3 separate regions of the Homo sapiens genome follow, and all the other regions are linked to region 1. The links are contacts of gene promoters, found by promoter capture Hi-C in human tissues and cell types (Jung and others, 2019). All regions are on one chromosome and are shown on one strand. Each heading gives the region's core, a stretch centred on a gene start or on the middle of the fragment in contact. The rest is flanking DNA. Distances are from core to core; before and after follow the strand shown.

What was found. Contacts are between HindIII fragments. The study calls those that stand out against the background at their distance.
Region 2: a contact is called between a fragment that was not itself captured here and the fragment with the promoter of MYLK in region 1, in 1 of the 25 tissues and cell types used here (IMR-90 fibroblasts).
Region 3: a contact is called between a fragment that was not itself captured here and the fragment with the promoter of MYLK in region 1, in 1 of the 25 tissues and cell types used here (lymphoblastoid cells).

What each region holds. Positions count from the first base shown.
Region 1 is chr3:123,882,375-123,887,126 of GRCh38, reverse strand. MYLK (myosin light chain kinase) reads left to right here and starts at 2,795. Exons shown (of 34, transcript NM_053025.4): 1 at 2,795-2,921. It also overlaps a transcript of CCDC14 not described here. RefSeq lists a silencer at 2,756-2,915. The HindIII fragment of the contact is 8,771 bases long and covers 1-4,752 here.
Region 2 is chr3:123,930,592-123,935,397 of GRCh38, reverse strand. CCDC14 (coiled-coil domain containing 14) reads left to right here. Exons shown (of 13, transcript NM_001366335.1): 10 at 1,643-1,725; 11 at 3,872-4,090; 12 at 4,164-4,296. Among named protein-coding and RNA genes, the nearest start is that of CCDC14, 28 kb to the left of the region's middle. The HindIII fragment of the contact is 6,144 bases long and covers 1-4,441 here.
Region 3 is chr3:123,842,292-123,847,255 of GRCh38, reverse strand. All of the region lies in intron 2 of MYLK (myosin light chain kinase), which reads left to right. Among named protein-coding and RNA genes, the nearest start is that of MYLK, 40 kb to the left of the region's middle. The HindIII fragment of the contact is 4,788 bases long and covers 1,170-4,964 here.

The DNA.
Region 1 (4,752 bases), core at 1,546-4,045:
AAAAGATGGATAGCATATGCAAAAAAAACTGTTTTCAAGAATCAAAACTGATGATGGTAGTATTAATATTGTTATTCTGAGATTATTATTATATGTTTAATGCAAACTAAAGCAAATTAGTAAATTGGGATATTCTAATTTCATCCTCCCTTTTGTCCTTGAGAACCAGAATTCTCTACATGAAAGAAAAGAGGTCCTAATGTAATATATGTTAAGTAAAAACTACAGTCCTGAAATTAAATTGGAAATAATATAAACTGATGAAAATATTATGAAGAATAATATTTCTCTAGAATATAAAAAAATGAAGTATTCTTTAGTAGCTCTGTCTATTGAAAAGGCCTAGAAACAGTTACCAACCTAGTAACAATGAATACTCCTAGTGCTCATATTGTTATCTTAAAATTTCAACAAAAGAAACTAGAGCTTCTGGCCAGGCGGGGTGGCTCATGCCTGTAATCCCAGCACTTTGGGAGGCCGAGGTGGGCAGATCACGAGGTCAAGAGATTGAGACTATCCTGGCCAACATGATGAAACCCCGTCTCTACTAAAAATACAAAAATTAGCTGGGTGTGGTGGCACGTGCCTATAATCCCACCTATTCAGGAGGCTGAGGCAGGAGAATCCCTTGAACCAGGGATGTGGAGGTTGCAGTGAGCCGAGATCGTGCCACTGCACTCTAGCCTGGTGACAGAGTGAGACTCCATCTGAAAGAAAAGAAAGAAAGAAAGAAGGAAAGAAGGAAAGAAGGAAAGAAAGAAAGAAAAAAAGAAAGAAAAAGAGAGAGAGAAGGAAGGAAGGAAAGAAAAAACAAAAAAACTAGAGCTTCTTGGAGAAATGGCTGATTCCAGGTTTGAGGCAGCAAATGTACAGATGTGCCTGGAACATCTTGTCATATCAGATAGCAAGGAAGCTATCAAAGACTTCTAGGGTCTTTGAAGCTCTTTGCACACTAGTGAGAGAGAGAGAGAGAGAAAAAAAAAAAGACTACTAGAATCTTATCAAAAGGAGCCAGGAGCCATATTGAAGAAGCTCCTACTGGCCAAAGATGGGACAATTTGAGCTCTAATATCGTAGATGGAAACCTATCAAATATATTTAAATTCATGAATTTATAATGATATTAAAGAAATCTAAGAATGACAGAGAATCAATTCCTTAACTTGAAAACTGGGTAATTTTTTTAAAAAAAAGCAGGTATTCATCGTGCCTTTCCTATCTCAGGGTAATCAAATAGTAGATGAGAGGAAGCATCTCCTTATCCACTTATGAACTAATAAATGAAAACAAAATTATTAGAATACCATGATTTTGCAAACTTCAATTAATTAATGAATCTAGGAATTGAGCATCGACGGCTGTTAACCTCAAAAAAGAGCAAACACCAGACATCATGATCATGTACCTCTTGAAGAAAAGAACACACAACCATCTATAATCTTACAAAAGACATCAAACTTCAGTCTGAGGAAGACCCTGGATCAGCTGCCAACTTGCTGTCAATACAGAGGACAGAGAAACATGCTGAATTGCCTCATGAATGTGCAACCCCCAGACTCTGGAAAACCTCACAGATCAAGGGCTTAAGTTATTTAACAAATAATTGTAAGGAAAAGACTGAAAAGGCAAATCAAATTAAAAAAAAAAAGAGTGGGGGGAGGGGTAAGGTGCACCCTTGGAAGATACCAAGAAAAACAAAAGCAGCAGAAGTGACTACATGAAAGTCAGGTTAGTGGTTACTTTTGGGAGGAGGGAGAAAGGGGGTTGTCATTGAGGTAGGGCACATGGAGAGGCTCCTGGGGTGGCTGGCAGAGTTCTATTTCTTGATCCAGGTGGTGATTACAAGGATGTTCCCTTTATAATAATTCACTAGTCTATATATCTATATATTTGTTTTTTGTGGTTTTCTGTATTTATGTTTTATTTTACAATTAAAAAATTTTTAAAAACACTCCTTAACCTGCAGTAAACAGTTTTTTTAAAAAAAACAAAAGAAGGTCCAAGTGAAGAGATCAGAAGCTATAAAATATTTCATATTGGGTGCAAACTAAATATAAAGCAAGCCAAAACCAGAAACACCTCCTCCCCCTCCCCTCCCCCCCCTCCCCTTTCCCCTTTTTTAATTTAAAGAACTTTGTAGGTATCTTCCAAACCAATGAGAGATTCTTAACACACACAAAGGGAGGATGTCAGAGGAACCATGGGGCTGAGTTGCACCACTGGAGGATGTCTGAAAAAAACTACATAGACAACCTTCCAGCACTAAAACTTTAGCCCCATGGTTCCGCTGACATCTTCATTTTACAGATTAGAAAACTGAGGCCCAGAGGCAGCCAGTGTCTCATGCACGCTCACGAAGCTAGCATCAGACCCCGACCTAAGGCCTAGGTCTCCCAGTGTAGGACTAAGACACGCACCAAGACAGTACCAGCCCGCTGACCGCCGCCTGCGAGGAGTTAACTGGGGCGGTGCAGGATAAGTGCGAGGGGGGCCCGGGTCTGGCGCTAGGTTTGGCTGCGGATTCTCCGCTCCGGACTCCGAGGCAGAAGGCGGGTGGGCGTGGCGGGAAGGGCAGCAGGTCCACTCCCCGAGCGCTATGCAAATGTCATGCAAATCAGTGCATGGGGGCTGGAGCGGGTGGTTTGAGTCCTGACCCCGTAGCGCCGCGCTCTCACTCGCTCTCCTCAGCGCGCGTCCGCTCTCCGCTCTCCCACTTGCTCTCTCTCTCGCCGGTTCGCTCACCCCCGCCCCGCCCCGCCCCGCCCCGCCCTGCCCAGTCCCGGACGCGCCTCGCGGGCTCCCCGCGCCGCCCGGTCGGCAGCAGGGCGCTGAGCGAGCTCGGAGCCCGCGCTGTGCGCCTGCGGCCGGGGCGCCCCGCCGAGCGCCGGTGCCCCGGCTCCCGGGCCGCCTTCGCCGCGCGGGTGAGTGAGCCCGCCCCATGCTTTTGTCCAGGCGCGGGCCCTGGAAGTCAAGGCTCCGAGGGTGGGAGTTCTGGGTGGGGGCTGGGACCCCCACCGTCTGTGCCTCCCGACTCCCCTAATGGAGAGGGGCCCCGGGGTGCGGCGAGGAGTCAGGGGCGTAAGGAGACGACCCCAGTGACGCCAGGCTGCACGAGTTTTCTTTTGGGGAGATGAAGTGCTTGGGGACACTGATGCGATTGCCTTTCTAGGAATCATCCGAAGGGGGTGCCTTTGATTTGAGGGGCGGAGGAGAAGCGGACCCTTCTCCCAGCTCCCAGACCCTCGCTAGAGGACTCGGTGACGGCCTCTGGGAAGGGGGTGCCACGTGAAGGTCCTTCCAGCCCAAATGTGATTCCGGGAAGGTAGGGCGGGGAAGGCGGCCCGCGAGTGCCAGACCTGGCCATCCCAGGCGAAGCTGGGGCGCGGGCTTTGCAGACTTGTTCCTACTCCATACTCCTCATTTAAGCTCCTTACCTCGCTCTGCCTCCTTCGCGTTAACTGGGGTCCCATTGTTGAGGGACCTTGTTCGCCGATGATTGCAGTTGGAAAGTTTTGGATAAACTTCTCAGGAGATGTGAGTTGTCAATGGTTGAGGTAGACCCCTCCCTGGAACTTATGGAACTAAAACCCTTCAAGACCCAAAGGACTGAATTTCTAGGAGTGGCATTGCAGATGTGAAGATGGGCTGATGGGGAAATGGTTTCAAGGATATATATTTTTTTTAGATTGGGGTGTGTGTGTTGGGGTGCGGGGCACTTTCTATTTCGTAGCCAGAAGGAGAAGACCCAGCTCTACTAGAGTCTAGAGGGAGTAAAATTAGCTGTTGTGATTCAGGGAGCTGGGTGGGTGTAGGGAAACACCTGGGCAGTGGGCATGATGCCAGACCTCAGGCCGTTGGTTTTTACCATCCCTCCTCTCCCCAAGTGCAAAGACCAGAGTATATGCAATGACCCGCCCACCCCACAGCCTTTGAGAGCCTGCCCTGGAGCTGCATCCCCCTTCCAAGAGAGGCTGTGTTCTTCTCCACCTGAATGGAATACTTTTTGTCAAAATGCACTTATCAATAAATTATTTCCAGATGGTGGGCTTAGGAGGACCATTTGGGGAACCCCGCCCACACTTCAAAGAATCAGGAATCAACAATGCAAGTCTCTGGGAGAAGTGTAGGTGCATCTGGTGACTTTACTAGGTTCCTACAAGGCATTTAGGGTTCTAATAGAACTGTTTTCTTTTCTCTTAAATTCTTGACCTCCTTCTCTCTTCCGTGATTCTCTTAGTCTCTTCCCCGCCTGCACACTGTGGGACTGTGGAGGATGATGCTGCTGGCACCACAGTGCTCTAGGGCAGCATGGAATTTTCCTTCCTGCCCAGAGTGAGGTTACCCCTTTTTCTCCCACTCTCAGTGGGCCAGGAGCCTTGGGTCTGGGAGGAACCTGAGCAGTTGGTCCTGGGTCCGGAGTGGTTGGACTCTGGATGCTGGATTGGGTAGCGGGTACTCTGGGGACATGCACAAGAGCTTTTTTTGCCAAGATGTGCAGGTCTGTCTCATTGTTCACTGATGATACAAAGGATGCTGGACCTCATTTGCAGCTAAGCATGAGCTTGGAGAACCACCCCACAGTGGGGAAGCATTTATGCTGGTTTATCTCCCATGTTCAGTTTCTTTTGTGTAATAACTGGCTAGCTGAGGAGGAGGGTAGCTGCAGCATTGTAGATGTTTCCTTGTCTTATTTTTATTTTTATTTTTTATTTTGAGACAGGGTCTGGCTCTGTTGCCCAGGCTGGAGTACAG
Region 2 (4,806 bases), core at 120-2,619, 50 kb before region 1:
TAGAATAATTTTGTCAGAGATTATGAACATTTTACATTTTGTTGGACATTTCAAACTGCCATCCAGAATGGTTATACTGATATAATCACATGAATTGAGTTAATTCATTTCCTGTACTATCATCAGAAAATGTTATTTCTTTTTATTTTTGTCAATTCTATGGCCAAAAAGTACCTTCTTTTAAATTTGCAATTCTTCATGTTAGTGAAGATGAGCATTTTTATCATATGCTTATAGGCCATTTCTATTTCTTAGGTGAACTGCTCATTCTTATCCTTTGTCACTTTTTACTAGGTTGCCTTCCTTACTGATTTGTAGGAGTTCTTTAAATGTTATGGACCCCTTGTCTATAACATATGTGCAGGTATTTTCTTTCAGGCTTTTAATTCTACAGGTTTCAAATTTTGCTATGGTTAAATCTTTCGTTCTTTTCCTTGATGCTTGCTGGATATTGAGTTTCACTTAGAAATGCCTTCCCGACTTCAAGATTATGTAGATTTCCCCCTAAAACTTGTATAGTTGGGTTTTGTTTACATATTTTATCACTTTAATCAACTCGAAATTAATATATGTGAGTGATGTGAGGTAGGGTACTATCATTTTAGAGTTAGTACCAAAAATAAATATTTTAAGGCAAAATATTTTTAGGTAAGTAATTCTGGAAAGATAATAGAGGTAACTTTTGTCCCCATAAGCGATAACTTCTTAGAAGTAAAGAAAACACTTGCATATGTTTCTATTTGTGAAGCAGATACATATTGTGAAGTTCATTGTAACAGGGCAGATTTGTAGCCTGTTAATATTCTCGTTACTTAAGACCATTAACTTTTCCATCTAATAAAATTATTAGAAGCATAGATTTGTGTTTCAGCATATGACAAACATCAGGCAGATAGATGTCTGATAGCAGTCAGTGCTTGTAGGTATTCTAGTTGATAGTAATGACAAATCTTTTAAAAAGTAGATGATTAACTACAGTGATGAAGATACACAGAAAGACGATGAGAAACAGCATGAGCAGATAGAAAAGGAAAGAAATAGAAAAAAAACAACAAATCACTGAAGAGACAAAAAAGAGAAATTAACACTTTCCTCATGAGGGTTTTTTTTTTTTTTTTTTTTTTTTTGAGGCAGAGTCTCACTCTTTCGCCAGGCTGGAATGCAGTGGTGCGATCTCACTCACTGCAACCTCCACCTCCCAGGTTCAAGCAATTCTCCTGCCTCAGCCTCCCAAGTAGCTGGGATTACAGGCACGCGCCACTACGCCCAGCTAATTTTTGTATTTTTAGTAGAGATGGGGTTTCGCCATGTTGGCCAGGCTAGTCTCAAACTCCTGACCTCAGGTGATCCGCCCACCTCGACCTCCCAAAGTGCTGGGATTACAGGCGTGAGCCACCGCGCCTGGCCCATGAGGGGAGGTTTTATGTTGTTTCAGGCAACCTTAAAAATTATCTCAGGCCTCATAATAATAGTAGTATGGTTTTGTTTTTGTTTTGTTTATTTAGTTTTTGTCTTTTGGGGATGAGATGGACTTCTGCTGTCTTAGTGGGTTTATGTTTTATCTTTTTTGATAGGCTATCACATGTATACTATTAAATTGGCTTGGTATGCTTGCATTCATAGTTCTTCATTATTTCTTTAGGCAGTTGAGAATTTTGAACCAGCAACTCAGAGAACAACAGAAAACTCAAAAACCATCTGGTGCTGTGGATTGCAACCTTGAATGTAGGTAAAAGAACTTTAAGGATTGATAAATTATTTGTGGCTCCGGAAATGTTGATAAAGAATTGAGCTTTTGTAATTACTTTGAGGGGATAAATTTAAAATATTGTAGAAACATAAGAAAATAAAAGATGCTGTCACTTCCCAATAATATACACCTTTTTTTGTTTGTTTGTTTTGAAATACAGGAGTGTGTTTCCTTTTACATATCTTCTCTTCATATATAATTGATTTATTTAACACTTACTGAATACCTACTGTGTGCCAGGCACAAATAGAACTATATATGTACTTTTTTAAAAATGAGATCACACTGTACATACTTTTCCACAGCTTCTGTTTATTCACTTAACATATAATGGACACTTTTGTCTATCAAAATACATAATTATGCATCTTTCTCTTTAAGAATTACTTGGGTATTCTGCTTATCCAGGTCTACCATAATATGGTCCTTTGCTAATAGTACTTTCCCCTTTTTTCCCAGTGCAAACAACATTGCAGTGAAAATCTTTGTATATGTCTTTGTGCATATATGTCAGCTTTGTTTGTTTGTTTGTTTGTTTGTTTGTTTGTTTTGAGACGGCGTCACTCTGTGGCCCAGGCTGGAGTGCAGTGGTGCGATCGTGTCTCACTGCAACCTCTGCCTCCAAGGTTCAAGTGATTCTCTTCCCTCAGCCTCTCAAGTGTCTGGGATTATAGGCGCCTGCCACCACGCCTGTCTAATTTTTGTATTTTTATTAGAGACAGGGTTTCATCATGTTGGCCAGGCTGGTCTTGAACTCCTGACCTCAAGTGATCCACTCACCTCGGCCTCCCAAGGTGTGGGATTACAGACAATGAGCCACCACGCCTGGCCAGCATTTTTGTAGGATAGATTTATAGCAGTAGAATTGTTGAGCCAAAGGGTATATACAGTTGCAATTGTGACAGATATTGCCAAATTGTCCTTAATGATCACAGAGCTTAATAAAGAAACTATAATAGTACCAGAAGAAAATATAAGAATTTTTATTTTTTTATTTTTTTGGAGGGGAACTTTTCCTAAGCCTGACAAAGACTCAAATGCCACAGAGGAACAGATTGATAAAATATGTCCCCAGAAAACTTTTTCAGTTTCTACATAGCAAAATTATAAATACATTCAAAACATAAGCAAAATGGAGAAACAATACATGACATGATGAAGGCTTAATCTTCTTAATATATAAATATGTCTTATAAATCAATAAGAAAAAAATATGATTGCCCAACAGAATGAGCACTTTATAAAAGTGTTCAGTTTCACCAGAGTGATTCAGAAATTATCACTGTGTCTCCACTGTTAACCAAAGGTGAGGAAAGGGAGAGGGTAGGAGAGAGGAGGCCTAGAGGACAAGTGGGGAGATCAGTAGTTGCCACTTTAAATAGCTTCTCTTATTTATATTATCTGATCATTTATCTTATTGTTTCTTTGAGATCATTACTGTGTATAATTACTTGTTTGTTATCAGCTCTGTGAGAACAGGGGCCACGTCTGTGTTGTTCATCTCTGTATATTCAGATTCTAATACAATACCTCACACATAGGAAGCATTCGCTGAGCATGTATTTGCTCAACAAATGGTGCCATATACTTTTATCGCCATGAAAAAGAACGTGATAGATCTATGTGTTTGTATACAACAGTCTTATGGGAAAAAAAGGCAAAGTTAGAAATTGTGTATAGTATGTGTGTGTATGTAGTGTAATTAATACCATATGTAAAAGTGTTTTCACGAAAGATACCAAAATTAATACTGATTGTCTCTGGGGACAGAGAGGAGGAGTGGAAGGGAGATTCTTCATTGAGAATCATTGACATTCTGTGGTGTTTGAATTTTTTAACTTTGTACATGTATTATTCTTTTAAAAGGATTATGTATTCTTTCTTTTAAAAGGGTTTAAAAAATTAATGCTTAAAATGTCAACTGGAAAAGAAAGGTATGACTTCTGCCAATCATTTTTAAAAATATATGTAGTATTTATGTAGAACTGCTCATGCAATTAATCGTTAAACAAAATCAATAAATTTCAGGCCTTTTTTTTTTTTTTTTAAGAAACAGGTATTTTCCAAGTTTGTACTTTTTAGGTTTGGGAAACAACTATTTGATCCATTTTGTCTTAACAGTGTTTTCTCTTCAGTCATTGAATATGTCACTGCAAAATCAATTGGAGGAGTCACTAAAGAGCCAGGAATTACTGCAGAGTAAAAATGAAGAGCTGTTAAAAGTGATTGAAAATCAGAAAGATGAAAACAAAAAATTTAGTAGTATATTTAAAGACAAAGATCAAACTATACTTGAAAATAAACAGCAATATGATATTGAGATAACAAGAATAAAAATTGGTACGTATTTAGACAGTAGTTATGGTCACATCTTTTAAAAGGAATAAGGAAACTGAAACTTTTGTTGTTTTAGAATTGGAGGAAGCCCTAGTCAATGTGAAAAGCTCCCAGTTTAAGTTAGAAACTGCTGAAAAGGAAAACCAGATATTGGGGATAACATTACGTCAGCGTGATGCTGAGGTGACTCGACTAAGAGAATTAACCAGGTAAAATTGACTTCCTTTGAATAACTCATGCCTTTTTTATTTTTAGATGTTTTTATAAACTTCAAAATAATGTTAGACCTGTTTTCTCCCCCATATCTTTTTCTCTTATTTTGCCAATGTTTTTGCTAATTTCTAATGATGTTTTCTTCTGTTCCAATTAAATTAGTTTAGGAATTTCAAACCTGGCGAAATGTTTTTTTAAAACCATGTGATTCTGGGCAGGGGGTCCTGATGAGAAGCTGAAGACTTGTATAGCAACACCATTGAGCCCTCTGGTTCTGAAGCTAGAGAGATCTGACTGGAATCCCAGCTCTGCCACATATTAGCTGAGTAACTTTGAGCAAGCCATTTAACTTCTCTAAACCTCAGCTGTAAAGTAGGGACATGAATAGAGTTGTCATGGGAAACTAAGAAATCATTCATGAAAAGCACTTAGCATGGTAAGCCCTCATGCCATATGATCTTGGGTAAGTCAGCCTCTTTCAGCATTATTTCATCAGTTAAATGAGT
Region 3 (4,964 bases), core at 2,314-4,813, 41 kb after region 1:
TGCTCAAGTCCCTTATATAAAATGGTATAGTATTTGCATATAGTCTACATGTATCCTGCTGTATACTGTAAATCATCTTTAGATTATATGTAATACCCAATACTATGTAAAGGCTATGTAAATAGTTGTTATACTGTATTTTTTATTTGTATTATTTTTATTGTTGTGTTGTTATTTTTATTAGATTTTTAAAAAATATATTTTGGATTTGCAGTTGGTTGAAGCCGTGGGTGCAGAACCCATGGATATAGAGAACCAACTGTATACTGTAAGAATTCCAAGTTCCATAAATACAGTATCAACATATTAAAGTACTATTTACCAGGAATAACCAATTAGAAAAATTAATAGATAAAGGATCCCATTTTCAGCAGTAACAAAAGCCATAATATACCCAGGAGTACACCTAACCAAAAAGTACACAAGAATATTTATGAAGAAAATTACAGTTGTTGAAAGGAAAAAAAAAAGAGATCCTTAATAAATGGAGAAAAGGGCTATATTGATAAACTGGAAGATTCATTATAAAGGTGCCAGTTCTCCACAAATTAATTCATAAGTTAAATGTACTTCTTAGTATGGATGAGCATATGGAATGACAGTCTCCTACGCTGCTGGAAGGACGGTACTACAGCTTTAGGAAACAATTTGGTTATACCCTTTACACCCAGGAATTTCGGTCCTAGATGGAGAATCTTTCTTGTGTACCTGAGTAGACGTTTAATATTAAAGTGTTCATTGCAGCAAAAAATGGGAAACAGTCCAAATTTCCACCAGTAGGAAAATGAATGAAATATTATGCATACTATATATAGCAGTAAAAGAACTATAGTTATATTTCTTAAGAGATCAATCTCAAAAACAACATTGAATGAAAGAAGCAAGTTACAGGAGGATATGAAAAGAATAGTGTTTATATGCGTTTTAAAGCCTGGAAAACAACACTATATATACAGTGTTTGTGCTTATACTGTCTTTCTGTGCATTCACACAAACATGTCTGGGAATGATAAAACAATGAGTTTATAATGGTTCTTACGGGAGGAACAGACATGGAAATGGGAAGAAAGGGTTCCCAAAGAGACACAAATGTATCTGATGTTCTTTTAATCAAGAATCCGTTTTGTCGCTATGATAGAAATCTTTCACCATTAAAAAGTGCTTTATCCTAAATGCAATGAGGTATCTTGGATTAGATCCTGGAACATAAAAATAACATCAGTTAAAAAACTGGTGAAATCCAAATAAAGTCTGGTTTCTTAGTTTTGAAAAATGTACCATGGTGATGTAATAGATTAACATTAGGGGAAACAGAGTGAAGAGTACCAGGGACTCTGTATCATGTCTGAAATTTTTCTAAGAATATAATGTTATTCCCAAATAAAACATTTATTTTAAACAGTGGGGAGGTGGTGGAATTTTTTAATGGCTTGAATTAGCTGGGCATAGAAGTGTGTAGCTGTAGTCCTAGCTATTTGGGAGGCTGAGATGGGTGGATTGCTTGAGTCCAGGAATCTGAGCCTGCAGTTAGCTATGATTGCCATTGTACTCCAGCCTGCGCTACAGAGCAAGACCCTGTCTCTAAAAAATAAAAAAATATAGCTGGGCATGGTGGTGTGTACTTGTAGTCCTGGCTACTTGGGAGGCTACGGCAGATGGATTGCTTGAGCCCAGGAGTTTGAGGCTGCAGTGAGCTGTGACTGCACCACTGCACTCCAACCTGAGCAACAGAGTGAGACCTTGTCTCAAAAAAACAAAACAAAACAAAACGAAAACCCAAAAGGTGCTCATGTCTATTTCCCCAGCATTGTCAACTTTGAACTCTGTCCCTGAGGTGGATGGACTCCTGACATGTCCTTGCGGTAAATATTTCCTGGGTATAAATGATGCTTCTAGTCTTTGTGTCCTGCATGTCTCATCTGCCCTGTTTTAGGACACTCCTAGAGGGTACCAGTCTCTCTGCAAAGTCTTCTTTATTCCAATTTCATGGGTCATTTGGTACTCACCTAAGACCCAGAGATCTTAGAGTTGGAATGGACCCTAACAGAGTGCCCTGTGCAGCCCCTTTCCACAGGGAGGTCAGTCCTCTGGAGGATAGGCTGAGGAACTCAGTGAGCAAAAAGGACTAGAACCCAGAAGTTTGCTTCCTAGAATTATCTTTGCTGTCACCTCATTGTCTCTTACAATAAAGGCAAAAGAGACTGAATACCCTCTCTTATTTGTTTGTTTGCTTTGAAAACTAGTGGAGAGGTCAGGCACTGTGGCTCATGCCTGCAGTGCCAGCTACTGAGGTGGCTGAGGCAGGAGGATTGCTTGAGGCCAGGAGTTCAAGGCTACAGTGCACTATGATTGTACCTGTGAATAGCCACTGCATGCTAGCTTGGGCAACATAGCAAGATCCTGTCTTTAAAAAAAAAAAAAAAAAAAAAAAAACAACTGAGGAGAAGAGTTATATATTACCCAGAAATGGTGACACACACTGGAGCTGGAGTTATCAAGGTGAGGTTGGTGCATCTTTTTTTCTCTGTGCTTACAGACCTTCCTAAGATTAGACACTGTCTGCTTCTGAGGGAAGAGTGGGCTGGGTGCAGACAGAACTAAGAGTTGTAGAATGTATGCCTGCCCCTCCGTCTTTATCACAACCCGATGGAGTGGTCAATTGCTCCTGTCTTAAGATGAGTTAACAGGCTTAGAAAGGTTAAGTGACTTCCCTAAGGTAATAAAACTAATAAGAGGTAGGCCTATATTTTAGGATTCTAAGAACTCATGACTAAGGAAGACCCCTCTGAAGGCAGGGAGGATGTATTCCCCAGAGCCAACTTTTACTCTTGAAAGAGCTGTGGCTGGGAATGATGTGGAACCTGAGCCAAGACAGAGCAGCTAGCCTAGGACAGGTTGAGGACAGATCCAGGTGGTGAGGATCAGGCCTGCCAGGGCTACATGCCACCATGGATTCCTCCCTCTGGAAAAGAAAGTTATACAAGTTGGCTTCCTGCTCCTCCTACCCCTCATTCCTCTGTTCCATCCTAGCTTGGGGGCCCATGTCCACTAGCCTTCCTGGGAGGCCTCCCCCAAACCAAGGTCCTTGCTTTGTCTCTGTTTAATAGGTATGGGAGAGGCTTATGTGACTAAAGAGGACACCTCAGAGCTTGGTCGAGATAGGTGTGTGAGAGTAAACTCAATCATTATGTGAATGTGGTTGTTGGCTGAACACAGAGCATAAACCTAGAAGATTTGTGGGAGCAAGGAGGGAAAATGCCTTTTAAGAGAGGTCTCCAAGGAGAATATGAGATTAGTTGAGGTTCAGTGAGTTCCTTTGTTGCTGACTCAAGAAGCATATTTGAAGGGATAAGCCCTCTCACTTAGAGCAGAAGCATCCCAGCCTTGTTGCCATAGTGACAGTGCTCAAACAGAGGCTTAAAAAACAGAAAACACCATGTCAGAAGGATTCCTTTGGAGCTATGATGCCCCAGTAGAGGTCCCAGCTATTGTGTGCTATGGAGGAGAGGGGCAGGGAATTTGAATAGTTCCCCTTCCTTCCTGTTTCTTGCTGTGGGGCTTTTGTTTTGGTCTTTCTCTCTGGACTGATACGGCCTTTGGAAAGGGATGTGTCTCTGCAGAAGGAACCAGTCTTCTTTTAAACCTGTGTCAGAAGTTGGAGGCATCTCTCTTTTTCAGGCCCTTTTCTTGGTTATGCTGCCTGTTAACTTGCCATTCTGGAATGTAGCAGAGTTTTCTGTAAAGCCAGCCACCTTACCTTTATTCCTATTAGAACATGAATCTGTTTGAAGCAAGCTACATATATAGTCTCCTTGTCCTGCTCCCTAGCTTGGATGCTCTTAGACCTGGATGTTCATTCTTATCTCATAGAGGAAGGATGAAAGGGCCCTTACAACCAGACAGACCTGTGAGATGTGGTCACTAGTCACTTGGCTTATCTGGCCTCTTTAAACTGTGCCCCAATTTGCAAGGACATATTAAAATATATGATTATTTCTCCTAATCTGTCTGATTTCATTGTTTCCAGTATTTTTGACATCTGGTCTTCGGCATCTTTGCTTTGACAACATGGTTTAGACTTCAGTTTGCTTTGACCCATGGACTGCTGAGACTTGAGCTATTGAATTACTGATACGGGAGTTGTGAGGGGTGTGTTGAGTCTGTTACTCCTTCTGGTTCTAGGTCCCTGCCTGATAAGCTGTATTCCACACTATCCGAAGATCATACCTTAAGCCTCAGCAAGCCCTCTGTCTTAAATATCAGAGTGTGTGGGTTCTGTACCTTGTCAGATCCGACATGGTGTCCGTCCCAGCAGCACATTGGGAGCTAGCCAAATCTGGATTAGACATAGTCTTGCCTTAGGGCACTTGCAGTCTAGTGATAGAAGTGACGCTAGAAATGTAAGCACCTCAAAGGAGAGATCTTTGTCTATTTTGCTTTGTTCATTAATGTATCCCCTATGCTTAGAACACTGACTGGTATGTAAGTATTTAATACAAATGTGTTGCATAAATGGACACAATGTCTATGAACAATGTCAAAAGAGAAGTACAAATGAATAAGGCAGTTTCAGAGAGATAAGATATTGGCAGAGGAAATGAACAGACAAGTTGATCTTGTTTTTTGTTATTGACTATATGATTCTTTGGAATTTGTTGAGACTTGCATTATAGCCTTTTGCAGTTTAATTTTTGAAAATATTTTCTATGTGTTTGAAAAGAGTAATGCATATTTTGTAATTATCAGGCATAGGGTTCTATATATGTCTATTAGATTAAGCTTTTTTGCCCATGGTGACAAATTTGGGAGTTTTCACACAAATAATTGTGAGATTGGATTAAATTGAGCAGAATTGGCCTGATTCTGAGCTGTGATATTGGAGATAGTTACTAGACCCCCATTTCTAAAACTGATGATGCCAGGGGTATTCTCTACCTCTTTATCTCACTTCTGTTATTATTATA